2 separate regions of the Homo sapiens genome follow, and region 1 is linked to region 2. Evidence: promoter capture Hi-C in human tissues and cell types (Jung and others, 2019). All regions are on one chromosome and are shown on one strand. Each heading gives the region's core, a stretch centred on a gene start or on the middle of the fragment in contact. The rest is flanking DNA. Distances are from core to core; before and after follow the strand shown.

What was found. Contacts are between HindIII fragments. The study calls those that stand out against the background at their distance.
Region 1: a fragment that was not itself captured here is called in contact with the fragment with the promoter of NRG2 in region 2 in 1 of the 25 tissues and cell types used here (heart right ventricle).

Annotation. Positions count from the first base shown.
Region 1 is chr5:139,995,844-140,003,309 of GRCh38, reverse strand. All of the region lies in intron 1 of NRG2 (neuregulin 2), which reads left to right. Among named protein-coding and RNA genes, the nearest start is that of NRG2, 44 kb to the left of the region's middle. The HindIII fragment of the contact is 5,645 bases long and covers 100-5,744 here.
Region 2 is chr5:140,040,763-140,047,402 of GRCh38, reverse strand. It overlaps NRG2 (neuregulin 2), which reads left to right and starts at 4,104. Exons shown (of 10, transcript NM_004883.3): 1 at 4,104-5,033. The coding sequence starts at 4,334. RefSeq lists silencers at 3,962-4,301, 4,462-4,671 and enhancers at 3,970-4,639, 6,012-6,201. The HindIII fragment of the contact is 7,156 bases long and covers 1,548-6,640 here.

The sequences.
Region 1 (7,466 bases), core at 1,673-4,172, 43 kb after region 2:
AAATTAGGATATGAACATATTGGGGGAGGGGGGCACTGTTCTGACTACCACACTCTTCATCTCTTTCTATCTCTGTATAATTACATCTTGTTTTATTTGCATTTCTTTAGTCAGGACTCCCACTGATGAAGTAGCAGCTTGTCTTGAGCATGGTTTTTCTGATCAGTGATCTATATTGGTCAATTTATGAAGAAGCACATTTAGTACCTCTTGTGTTGCCAGGCACTGTAGCTGAAAAGGAGAATTTGTCAGTTGATGGGAAAAAAAGTTGCCTGGATGTCTCTTGTAATCTTCCCCAGTTCAAAAAATGTTAAGACCAGTTATTCAGGTCAAAAATCTTGGAGCCATCTGGGATTCTCCTCTTCTTTCACTCCACATCTAATCCTTTTACAAATCCTGTACATTCTACCTTCAGAATACATCCAGAATCCAACTAGTTCTCATCACCTCCCCAATTATCCACTTGGTCCAAGACACCATTATCTCTTGCCTAGTTGTTTTAATAGCCTTCAAATTGGTCTCTCTGCTTCCACCCTTGCCCCTCTTCGGTCTATTCTGAACACAGCAGTCTGACTGACAAATAAAAAAAACTCGTGTGATTCTCCTGCTGTAAACCTCAGAGAGCTTTCTTTCTCACCCAGAGTTGATGACTGAAGGCTCACTTGCATGTTTTGGTCTGTGACCTCTCTGACTCCGGCTCCTACGTTCTCCCTTCAGTTCTCCTGCTTTCTCCGACTTGGCCCTTACTGTTATTTTCTGAACCTGTCAGACATGTTCCTGTCTCCAGCTTTTGGTATTTATTGTTCACTCTACTTGGAATATGCTTAACCTAAAAATCCGTGTGGCTCATTTCCTTACTTCTTTCACCCCTTCAAATTCTGCCTTTTCAAGGAGGATTTCCCAGCTATCCTATCTAAAATTGCAACCCCATAACCCTCCCAACCCTACTCTGTTTTATTTTTCACCTCAGCTCTTATCATTATCTGACATCATATTTTACCAACTTTTCTTATAAATGATGTTTACCTCTTTCCACTAGAATTGGAGACTTCAAGAGGACAAAAAATTTTGTCTTTTTTTCCCCTGTCACAGCTCTAATATTTATTTATTTACTTTATTATTTTTTGAGACAGGTTCTTTCTCTGCCACCCAGGCTGGAGTACAGTGGCATGATCATGGCTCACTGTAGCCTTGACCTCCCAGGCTCAAGTGACCCTCCTGCCTCAGCCTCCTGAGTAGCTGGGACCACAGGCTCATGCCACCATGCCCGGCGAATATTTTTATTTTTTGTAGAGACAGGGGTCTCCCTATGTTGCCCAGGCTGGTCTCAAACTCGTGGGCTCAAGGAACCCTCCCACCTTAGCCTTCCAAAGTGCTGGGATTACAGGCATGAGCCACTATGCCTGGCCTCCTTAATTATTTTAATTTTTAAAATTTACTTATTTTAGAGACAGGGTCTTACTCTGTCACCAAGGTTGGAGTGCAGTGGTGGGATCATAGCTCATTGCAGCCTCAAACTCTTGGGCTTACACGATCCTACAGCCTCAGCCTCCCAAGTAGCTAGGACTGCAGGTACATGGCACTATGTCTGGCCATTTTTTTTTTTTTTTGGTGGAGATAGGGTCTTGCTATTTTTCCCAGGCTGGTCTTGAACTCCTGGCCTCAAGCGATCCTCCCACCTTGCCCTGCCAAAGTGTTAGGATTACACACATGAGCCACCAAGCCCAGCTCACATCTCTAGTATTTAGAATAGTGCTTGGCAAATAGCAGGTACTCAATAATTATTTGTAGAATGAATTATATCTGCTTTTATAATTGGGCTATATATTTATCAATTGCTTCCTGAGGCATATAAGGTACAATGCTATATGTTTTGGAGGATAAAAAATAAATTAAGACATGATCTGTATTTTCAAATTGCTTATAATTTGGTTAGGGTAATGAGATAACCATGTGTGAAAAAACTAATGGTATCACTACCATAAGCTGTAGGTATGTATTAAATACGCTTAAGTATGGGGCACCGTGGTAGGTACTAGGGACAAACAAATATGCCATACACGATTTCTTCTTTCAAGCTTTTTTAGGCTAGTTATGAGGACACAAAGGAAAACAAGCTCTACCCGACTGGATGAGCCAAGTGCTAATAAATGGTATGGATACCGATGGGAGATCAGAGGGAGAGGAGTCCAGTAGCAGGGCCTGCAGCAGCAGGCTTCGTGTCACAGGTCTCTTCTGAACTGGGTCTGGAAAATCCAGGGAACTCTGAGAGGTCTGATGTAGCTAGAACATGGGGCGTGAGGGTGGAGAAAAGGCAGAAGACGAGGCTATCAAAGTAGGTCACAGAGAGATCGAGAAGGACGTTGAGTCCTATGTTACAGTTTGATGTCATTCTGTAGGTGGTAAGAAGCCACTGACGTTTTTGAAGAGGGGATTGAAACCATCACATCTGACGTTGACAGAGATGGATTAGAATGGATTGAAGCTAGGGAGAGCAGTTAGGAAGTTCCTATAGGAATCTATGGCCGCTCCTCTGCCCACTGCCTTCAGCTTCCAGAGCAATAGTGCAGACCAAGCCAATCCTGGCTGCAGCAGGAGGAGGTGTGGTGCCTGGGGAACATTTTCGAGAGCTCCGAAGAGAGCCGACAGAGTGCAGGAAGGAGGCATGCAATGCCTGAGAGCCAAGTTCAGCTCAGCTCTATTTTGGGTGACAACATTTACAATGTTCCTTCACCCAGAATCATTCCGCCTGCCTGCCCGCCTTCGGTGTTTCCAGCTGATGGGTTCTCACGCCTACTTAACAACTGGCTTGGTTCAGGGGCTCCCTGGCTCACCGACTGCTGCCCTTCAGTCCTCTCCCTCTTTGGCAGGATGCCTAAGTCCTTGGAGTGGCTAGAGTGCTAAGCCTGGTCCTCCATGCCTCTGCGGCAGGGGAAGCTGGAAGGGTAGTGCAAAAGCTCGAGGAAGGGAGGGGTGGTACTGCTAAATGCCAGAGTTCAAGCACAGAGGTGTGTAGGCAATTGACTCGCAGTTCTGTGCTTCACTTCCTCTGAAAGACCAAATTATAAGGGAGAGAATGCCTGATAATAATATTTTGTGTTTCCACATATCTTGTCTGAGAACCTCCAGACTCAAGATCTAGATTCTGCTGTTGTCCCAGATTACCTCATTAACTGAATCTGTGGGCGTTTATAGGTCATTTTTAGGGCTCTGTGGATATCATAGTGTAGAAGAGACAAATGTTGTTTTTTTATAATTAAAAACCTAAGAGTATTACACATTCATTGTAGAAAATGCATGAGCGTATAAAGAAAAGAATAAAAATAACCCATCATCCCATCACTTAGCGAGAGCTCTGGCTAATAGTTTGATGTTTCTTCCTGCTTGTTTTCCCCTGGGCATGTGTCTGTTTGTGTGTGGCACATATGCATGTCAGATATCCCCAGGTTCCCTCTGGGTGGGTATAGATTGGGGCACCCACCCTCAGCACTGAAATGTTCTCACCCAGAGTATATTTCCCATGTAGTCTGGATAATTTCCCTCCTGTCATTCTCCTTGGATTTCTCTCCTGTGATTCTCCTCTTTCAAAAGTGAAAGGATGCTCCTTGTAAAGACTGTTCTTCCAGGAGGGACCGATGTTTGGAGGAGCTCAGCATGGGACACTGCACAGTGGGGAAAATGAGACTGAAGCTGTACTATAATCATTCTTCTTGAACAATGATTCCAAAGTGCTACCAGGTACGAACAGAGAACGTCTGGTCCCTTCTCTCATTCCATGAGGCTTGCTGGATAGGGCAATGCAGGCCAGGTTTGCCACTGAGTTGAATAACTGGACCTGGTGGATTATTGAGGAGCCTGGTGCATTACAGAGAAAACTTTTCAGAGCAACTTGGCATCCCTTGAAAAAATATGCTAAGTCACCATAGAACCTCCAACCAGTTTGTAAACACCAGATTCTCTACTGATATTTTGGGTCAGATTCACCAGAAAGCAGAATCTAATACAAGAATTGGGTGCAGATAGTTTGAGAGGTAATTGCAAGAAGCAGGAATGAGGAAACGGCATAAGGGGAATGAGGCAGGAATAGAGGATAAACTGTTATTAGGGTGTATTATTAAGGTTCCTACTGTGTGCAGTGGGGACTTAATTCCACCAGAACTTCAGGAGAACGACACAGAATGCCTCATGGAGTTGTCTGCTTGAAGGATGAGGAACTCCAGCTAGCTTCTGTCCCCCACTGGCTGAGCCTCGTCCTTAGGACAGTGAAGTCCCTAGAGGGTTGTGTGTTTGAGGTGTGACTTTCAAGCAGGAAGTGGATCTGAACTCGCATAGGACAGCTGTGCTGAAAGAGGTGGTGGGGCAAGGGGCTTGTGATGTAGGATTCAGAGTCTTCTGCTATAATCTAGGAAATTTAGAAGGCTTCTTGGTTTCACTGATTTGAGCAAGTTTTTTCTCTTGTCTTAACTCCTCTTCCTATCTTCCCCTATTCCTATAATTCTCTAGTCTTACCCATATTTCAAGTAACAGTATGGTTCTTTGCCCTTGGATGGTAGATAGTGTTTGTTTGTTTGTTTTTAGCCAATTACAACATTCTGACTCATAATTCTAAGCTCATAATTTTTTCAGACTCGTCAGGAGCAAGCATTGGGCCTCTTGAGCATTGAGATTCTCTACTTTTGGTGACTAGAGTTCTGTACTTCTTTCCACATCACTAGTAGAGACCAAACTTGGAGAATTTGAGGGAATGAGAACAGTAGAAGGCGTGAGGCAGGCTATCTTCACCTGCAGTCCCATGGCTAGATTGGGTCCCAGTTTGGAACTGGAGCAGATCTTGTGTGGCTTTGGTCTGGGGTTGATTGCCAGTAGATGGGAACACAGGCTTCCTGAGTATACCTGAGATGGTCACGTGGCCGGCCCTCCAGGACTTTCTTGGCCTTGGGTTGGTCTGGATATACAAATGTTGAACATAATAGAAGCACTTTTCCAGCCCTCTGGGGTTTTGTTCAGAACAATATTCTGACCTGCTCTTCTGTGGGGAGTATTGGCATTGGTCTTTCATCTTTCCAGAGTAGAAACTAGAGGCCCAAAGAAGTTAAGTGGTTTACCCAAGGTGGTGTCATTTTTCACTGGTAACAGAGAGAGCTAGAACCAAGGCCTCCTGACTTCCAATCTAGAGTCTTTGACTTTTGACTCCACACCTCCACTCCCACCCCTTGCCACCAATGTAGAAACAGGGTATTTTTGTTCCTTGTTCTATCTCTCACTTTGGACTCCTAGCCAGATTATAACTCTGTGAAGGGAGGACCCAGGCCCCACGTACCCCACTCCTCTGAGCCCAGGTCTAGCCAGAGCAAGTGTTTAACAAAAGCTTCCTAATTTACCTAGAGGGGCAATCCTCAGGGCAGCTGGCTCCTCCCCAGCGGGAAACCCGGCCCATGGCCCTCTCTTAGTTCCAGGCTCCATGGAGAGGGGAACCATGTCCATCTGTGATAGACCTCAGCTTGTAGGCAGCAGGCTTGGAAGTTCTACCTTCTTGATAAGCAGGATTCACATGCTGGCTGTTCTCAGGAATTTGCTTCATTCTAGGGCCCATTGAGGGCTGAGTGAGGGTGTCCTCACTGACTCCTGAGCCCTTGGCCCTGGGGGCTGGTTTCTATCTATTTCTGCTATTTGCCAGATGATGCCCCATACAGCAGAGTCAGCTCTGCCATGTCTGTCCTCAGTCTAGGATTAGACAGTGGTGTCTTCCCTTAACCTTTGGGGGCAGACCTGTATTGTTGACCTTTGCTCTTCCCTCTTTCACTAAAGAGCATGTAAAGTACTGTTTGAAGATAAAGGCAGCTTACTAGTTAACCCCTTAGAGCCAGCACTGGCAGTCCATGTATCAAATGGTCTTCGTAAGATTATTCCAGTTATTTCTGCTGCTCTTTGAGTTATAGTCAGAATTTTGATTGTTTAGGGCCAAAGAGATGAGTCTGGGTCAAAGGCAGAGTGCTGAGCTTTAGTAGTGCCTCTGGGTGGGTAAAGGAAGGGTGGGTTTTTTTCTAGTTCCTCATTCCCAGTGACTACCCATAAATCTTAATTAAAATTGGAGGAGTTCTCCTCCATGTTCCCCTCAAGCTTTTCTTTTATTTTTATTTCCATTTTTTATTTATTTATTTTGTGGTGACACAGGATCTCATTCTGGTTGCCCAGGCTGGTGTGCAGTGGTGCGATCTTGGCTCACCACGGCCTCGACCTCCCAAGCTCAGGTGATCCCCCCACCTCAGCCTCCTGAGTAGCTGGGACTACAGGCATGTGCCACCATGCCCTGCTAATTTTTTGTATTTTTAGTAGAGACAGGGTTTCACTGTGTTGCCCAGGCTGGTCTTGAACTCCTGGACTCAAGCAATCTGCCCCCCACCCCCATCGGCTTCCCAGAGTGCTGGGATTATAGGCGTGAGCCACCACGTCTGGCCACCCCCTCAATCTTTTAAATGAAATAATTTAACAAATATTTGAGAGCTAATTACATGTGCCATCATTTTGGGACTAAAAGAGGTAATTGATGGGATCTCTGCCTTCAAGGGTCTTACGGTATACTTGGAGAGACAAGCGGCATATGTGGCAAAGACCACACTAGACAGGTGTGAAGGGCAGGCCTGCTAAGCAGGGCATCAGAGTACTTGGGAGAGAGAGAGAAAGCACTTTGGATGGATCTGGTTAAGAGAAGCCTTCTTGGAAGAAATGAGATTTCAGTCAGGTCCCTGAAGATACGTGTTTTCTTTACAACAGGTTTATGGGTATCTCTCTTTGTGGTAAGACTTTATTGCACATTCAACAATGACAACAATTTAAGGATCCTGGGGACAAGGTTATTTTGTTCCTAGATGTTCATTATAGTATTGTTCATAATAGCCAAAGATTGGAAACAACTTAAGTATCCAGTGATGAGGCATCGGTTAACTAGACTGTGGTCTCCCGTATTCCCCATGTTGTGGAATATTTTGTAGCCATCATACATCATTTTTGCAGAAGTTTATTTATTGACATCAAAGAATATTCACAATAGGTTGTTCATTGAAAAAAATCAGGTTCCAAAGTACTATGTACAGTATGAGTCCATTTATATTTGTTAACAGTAACAAACAAAACATGGCTTCTTAAAATCTTTTTGCTTACTCATTTTCTGATTTTTGCTACATGTGCATTAACTTGTAAATAAAATAACCTTCTGTGCTTATTCATTTGAGGATGAAATAAATAAATAACTTTCTGATGTTTTCCCTTCTTTTCTTTCTTTTTTCTTTTTTTAGAGACAGGGTCTTTCTCTGTCACCCAGGCTGGAGTGCAGTTGTGTGATCATAGCTCATGGTAGCCTCAAATTTCTCGGCTCAAGCCATTCTCCTATTTCAGCCTCCTGAGTACCTAGGACTACAAGCACATGCCACCATGCATGGCTAATTTTTATTTTTATTTTGTAGAAA
Region 2 (6,640 bases), core at 2,855-5,354:
GTTGGAGACCAGTCTGGGCAAGGCCCTATCTCTACCAAAAAAAAAAAAAGTAATAATAAAGAAAAGAAAAGAAAAGAAAAGAAAACTAGCTGGGTGTGGTGGCATGTGCCCGTAGTCCCAGCTACTTAGGAGGATCACTTGAACCCAGGAGGTCGAGGCTGCAGTGAGCCATGATGGCCCCACTGCACTCCAGCCTGGGCAACAGAGCCAGATCGTGTCTCAAAAGAAAAAGAGAGTCCGGGCGTCGTGGCTCACGCCTGTAATCCCGGCACTTTGGGAGGCTGAGGCAGGCAGATCACCTGAAGTCAGGAGTTCGAGGCTGCTCTGGCCAACGTGGCGAAACCCAGTCTCTACTAAAAATACAAAAATTAGCCAGGCGTGGTAGTGCGTGCCTGTAGTCCCAGCTACTCGGGAGGCTGAGGCAGGAGAATTGCTTAAACCTGGGAGGCAGAAGTTGCAGTGAGCTGAGATCACACCACCGCACTCCAGCCTAGGGGACGGAGACTCTGTCTCAAAGAAAAAAAAAAAAAAAAAAAAGAGGCCGGGCTCAATGGCTCACACCTATAATCCCAGCACTTTGGGAGGCCAAGGCAGGCAGATCACCTGAGGTCGGGAGTTCAAGACCAGCCTGACCAACATGGAGAAACCCCGTCTCTACTAAAAATACAAAAAATTAGCCAGGCGTGGTGGCAGGCACCTGTAATCCCAGCTACTTGGGAGGCTGAGGCAGGATAATCACTTGAACCCGGGAGGTGGAGGTTGCAGTGAGCCAAGATCACACCATTGCACTCCAGCATGGGCAACAAGACCAAAACTCTGTCTCAAAAAAAAAAAAATAAGAGAGAGAGGGGAAAATAATATTTTTATTCTTCATGACATGTGCTGTTGAAAAATTGTATCGCCTTTTTTTTTTTTTTTTTTTTGAGACAGTGCTCTGTTGCCCAGGCTGGAGTGTAGTGTCATGAGGCTCACTGCAACCTCTGCCTCCTGGGTTCTAGCATTTCTCCTGTGTCAGCCTCCCAAGTAGCTGGGATTATAGGGGAGCGCCACCACGCCTGGCTAATTTTTTTTTTGGTAGTAGTAAAGATGGGGTTTCACCATGTTGGCCAGGTTAGTCTTGAACTCCTGACCTCAAGTGATCCACCCCACTCAGCCTACCAAAGTGCTAAGATTACAGGCATGAGCCACTGCACCCAGCCGCATTTTTTAATATACAGAAAATCCTAGTGAATATTTTTAATATACAGAAAATAAATACCACTTAGAGATTCTCAGCTCTTAGATTGGGAACCACCAGTATAAGTAAAATATTAGTAATCTTCAACTTTAATTTTGGCCCTTACTGTGCACCAGACATTGTTCTAAGCACTTTACATATTATCTCACATAATCCACATCCTCATCATCCTTCTAGTCTCAGCTTAAATGTTATCTCCTCAGAGAAGCCTTCCCTTATCCAAGTAGACCTATCCTCTCCCCTTTCCATTATTCTCTAGCATTTCATCCTGTTTATTTCCTTCAGGACACTCAGCAATACAAGTAATTAGTTACCCATTTGTGTACTTATTTACTGTTGTCTTCCCAGTCAGAGTATGAGCTTTGAGAGCACAGACATGTACTATTGAACAGTTTGGTTCACCACAGTACATCCAGTAACATACAGTGCCTCAGTGCTTGGCACAGAGGAGCCATTCAATTGAATATTTATTGAAAGTACATACTGAGCAAAAAACAGCTTTACGAAGTAGACCCTATTATTTTCTCCTTCATACTGATAAGGAAACTAAGGCCTAGAGAGTGAAATAGACTCATCCCAAAGTTGGTAAGTCACAGAGTTGCTTTAAAACCCAGCTCTGCTGGGCTCCAGAGCACAAGCTCTTCACTATGACCCTGGTCTCAGGAACAGAAGACTGAGTTCAGTCCTGGCTGTGTGAAATGTTGAGTAAGTCCCCTATCCCCTCTGGGACTTTTTCTTTCATTGTAAAATGAAAGAGTGGATGTCGCTATCTTCCTTATGGTGATGTTTTGTGATTTATGAGGTCTGTGATCTATGAAAATGAAATGGGGGACACTGAAGGAGCCAAGAAGATTGGCTTGATGCCTTTAAGCGTGCCGATTTTCAGTTATTTTCTTCCTTCTCTCCTTCTTTCACTGGAGATTTGCTAATCCTTATTTTATGCCAGGCATTGTGTTGGAGGTAATAGGAATCCAAAGATGAATAGGATATATATAGTCCCTGACATTAACGTGCCTGGCCTGATGGGAGATGCAGACCCATTAAATGGCTGCTTGAAATACGGTATGGGCCAGTATCCCAACAGTAATACTATGTGTGAAGCTCATGGCAATACAGAGGAGGAAGGGATTAATTCCATCATGTATGTGTTGGTGGGAGTAGAGGTGGATATGTAGGAAGGGGGATGCGGTATAATGCTGAGCTGGGCCTTGGGAAAATAAGTTTTCCATGTGGTCAAGGTGGAGGTGAGGCTTTCTGGACACAAGAGACATCATGTGCAGAAGCACACCAAGAAAGAGCATGAAGTGCTGAGGATTGCTAGAGTGGGGGGTTGGCTCTCAGGATATGAAGCTGGCTAGGCAAAGGGAGCCCATGAAGAGCCTTGCTGAGGAGTTTGAACTTAACTTCTGAGAGCAGTAGCATGGCCAAATTGTACTTACATTTTATTTTTAGAAGGATCACTCTGGCATTGGTAGGACTGGAGATAGGTGATGAGGTGAAAGGAGTGGAGACCAGTTAGAAGGCTTAGAAGTTGTCCAGGTGAGAGATGATGAGGGCTTGGACTTAAGGTATTTGCAGCAGAGTTGGAGTGGAAGTAGATAAATTGGAGATTATTTTAAAAGAGAGACCCAAAGGCCTTGGTGATTAATTGGATGAGGAAGAATAAAAGATGAGATGAAGGGACTTATTGTAATGGATTGATGTAGTCTAAAAGAATAAAACAGTGGCATTAATAATTATAGGGGATTTGGAGTGAAGTGGAAGAAATAATGATGTTGGCTTTGGATGTATTGAGTTTAAGATGTCTCTTAGCTAGGAGGAAAGGTGTAGCTCTCTCTACTTCCTTTCCAGAATAGCAGTCCTAGCCTAAGTCACTCATCCTTGGACCAGTTTCCTGTGGAGCCCAGTGCGGTATAAAATTCCCCAAGAGCTCACTGGCATTCCTGAGCTCCACATCCTTCAAGGTTAAAAGCTGGGTGTTGAAAACTCCCTGGACCCTCATTGATAGGCTAATGGATTATGGACCTGTGTGTGTGTGTGTGTGTGTGTGTGTGTGTTTTAAATCAGATGCTGGCTCCAGTGCAGCAAACTCTTCTGCCTCTTGCAAGCATCAGCCTTGGAAACAAAACAAAACAAAACAAAAAAAACCTTTTTTATGGAGCAGCCTCTGGCCCTGACAGGCTCTGGCTCTCTGTTGGCTCCCAAGAAGCCCCCCACCTTTCTTAGAGATCAGATTTTTAAAAGATGAGGTTGTACAGTGCTCAGCCAGATCCCCACGTGGCCGCTGAAGAAAGCCCAGAGTGTTGGGGACTGGGCCCTTTCTCAGCTACCACCTCTGCTTGGGTGTCCTCAATGCTAAGACAAGACACCTTGTGGCCCAACTCTTTCCAAAATGACGGGGCTGGGATTCTCCCCCACCTCAAGTCGAATATCCAGCGTTCACCAGGCGGTGGCAGGACCGAGCACGTGGTATCATTTAGGGGCTGGGCTCCAGGGTCCTCCTAGGAAAGAGGACAGCCCAAGAGGCGAGAGGCTGGCCGGCCACCCTGGCCATGGCAACCTCTCTGGCTCCTACAGCTGCTGGCCAAAGGCAGGGGGCACGCCCTGCGTCCCATTACCACGTTCATAGGATGGTGCCAGGAGCCCGTTATCTCTTCTTCGCCTTCTCCTCACGCACCACCCCCACTGTCATGCCGATAAATCCCGGGAGCAAAGGGTGGCACGATTCCTCCCGCGCCCCTGCGGGCTGAAGGCGGGCACTAAAGCAGTGCAGTCCCAAGCTTCCCCTGCAGAAGCCGCGCTCCCTACTCGGTCCGGGGGCAGAGGGGGCGCGAGAGAGCAAGTGGGCGGGCGTCCCATCCTCCGCATCCTCCTCCAGGTCCTGGCGCACAGGGTGGGAGCGCTGCGCTGCGCCGCGCTGCGCATCGCGGCCCGCTTGCCGCCTGCCCCCTGCCCTAGCTGGGCCACCTCCCCGGGCTGCCGGTGGAGGGCTAAGAGGCGCTAACGTTACGCTGTTTCCGGTTTTCCAGCGGGCTCTGTTTCCCCTCCCAAGGCGGCGGCGGCTGAGCGGCGGAGCCCCCCAAATGGCCTGGCCAGATGCGGCAGGTTTGCTGCTCAGCGCTGCCGCCGCCGCCACTGGAGAAGGGTCGGTGCAGCAGCTACAGCGACAGCAGCAGCAGCAGCAGCGAGAGGAGCAGCAGCAGCAGCAGCAGCAGCAGCGAGAGCGGCAGCAGCAGCAGGAGCAGCAGCAACAACAGCAGCATCTCTCGTCCCGCTGCGCCCCCAGAGCCGCGGCCGCAGCAACAGCCGCAGCCCCGCAGCCCCGCAGCCCGGAGAGCCGCCGCCCGTTCGCGAGCCGCAGCCGCCGGCGGCATGAGGCGCGACCCGGCCCCCGGCTTCTCCATGCTGCTCTTCGGTGTGTCGCTCGCCTGCTACTCGCCCAGCCTCAAGTCAGTGCAGGACCAGGCGTACAAGGCACCCGTGGTGGTGGAGGGCAAGGTACAGGGGCTGGTCCCAGCCGGCGGCTCCAGCTCCAACAGCACCCGAGAGCCGCCCGCCTCGGGTCGGGTGGCGTTGGTAAAGGTGCTGGACAAGTGGCCGCTCCGGAGCGGGGGGCTGCAGCGCGAGCAGGTGATCAGCGTGGGCTCCTGTGTGCCGCTCGAAAGGAACCAGCGCTACATCTTTTTCCTGGAGCCCACGGAACAGCCCTTAGTCTTTAAGACGGCCTTTGCCCCCCTCGATACCAACGGCAAAAATCTCAAGAAAGAGGTGGGCAAGATCCTGTGCACTGACTGCGGTGAGTCGCCCCCTCCCTTTGCTGGAGAAAGGGGGGAGGGGCGAGGTGGTGGAGAATGGGGGTGGGGCGGGGAGGTGCTGCAGGTGCCCGGGCCTGGCAGCGTCCGGGCGCTGGGGGGGTGGGGCCGCCCCTGGGCAGGGCGCCTGGCACGGGTGGGTGAGGGGGTTGGGGTTGGAGAGAAGAAGGATCAGGCTCAAAGTGTGCCAGGGGTGGGGGGCGGAGGGAGGCGCTGGCCTGTGCCAGCGGGGATCTGCGGCTGATGTATGGCATGTGGGGCTGGAAAGCTGCCATCATAGCCCAGTAGCGGAAGGAAAAACGGAGAGGTCCTGGCGGTGCTGGCCTGAGGCTCAGTGAGTCAGGAGTGACCCTCGGAGGCCTTGCCTGCCCTGCTGCCGCGGGCCTGCCGTGCCCAGGCTGGCAGGGTCTGCGGGAGCAGCTGGGCAGACTCCCAGGCTGTGAAGGCCTCCGCTTACAAGTTCTCCTAGGGAATGGTCGCCCCCGCCCCCTCCTTCCTCTCCTGGGCTCGTTGCTCTGCTCATCCACACCGCTGGCGCAGGCAGAGTTGGACTTTTTCTGCTACTGTTTTCCGTCCTCCATGTGGCTCCAGTTTTTTTCTTCATCGTGATTGCCTGTCTTTGCTAAGCAGGTAGCACATCCTTCTCTTAAGACTAGCAAGCAGACACCTTTTTTTTTTTTTTTTTTTAGCTGTTTCTGGGGGAATTACAAGGTCTGTTGATTGTGATGATGATGAAAGAGAGTAACTTCTGCTGAATGCTTTAAGTTCAGCTCTAACGTCTTACTCGCCGGATGTATTTGACTGCATCTCTCATCTTCATGATGTTGGATGCTGCACAGGAATGCAGGTGATTAGAAACAAAACACTGAAATCTGTAGATCTCTGCAGCTGGGAATGGAAGTCTCCCATGTCAAAAGTCAAAGAAATGTCAGTCTAAGAGCTTTTTCTTCTTGTCCCTGAATCCAGTACTTACTTCTTAGTAAGATATTTCAAATCAAATTGTCCCACACTGGAGTATTTGGTGTAAGCCTGTCTCGTGCTTATTCAAATTGAGGTTTCGTTTTGTCCCAACTAAAGCTGAATTTGTTGGCATGCGGTATGACTTGCTGGACTGTGTAATCGCTGAATTATGATAGATGTCCTGTACTCTCATAGAAGTTGGTATGTTTACCAGTTTTACCAACTGATTCTGGGTAGTGTAGACAGGCTTTGTTTGAGTAGCAAAATATGTGTAACAGCTTATAGTAAGTTTTGCTGCCTTCATCTTTCTAGATCGATACCTATGATTTTTGGAAGCTTTCCTCCCCCACCCCCTTCAGGAGGCAAATTTTAGGAGTTTAGTGATGGGAGTATATCTAGACACTAACTATGTTAAACTGTGATCACTTTAATGAGAAGAATCTTGGCAATGTCTTAATAAGGAGGGGAAAACTTTGGGGGATAACAGCAGTTTATCGCTCTGACATTATCCTTAGGAATATTGTTGACTGCTTTTTATTATTGGTTTTATGTTCTGAAATGTTTTATAAAGACAAGTAGAGACCAGCTAAGAATTTCTAATTTTTTATTCTATTAAGTATTTTGATACTTG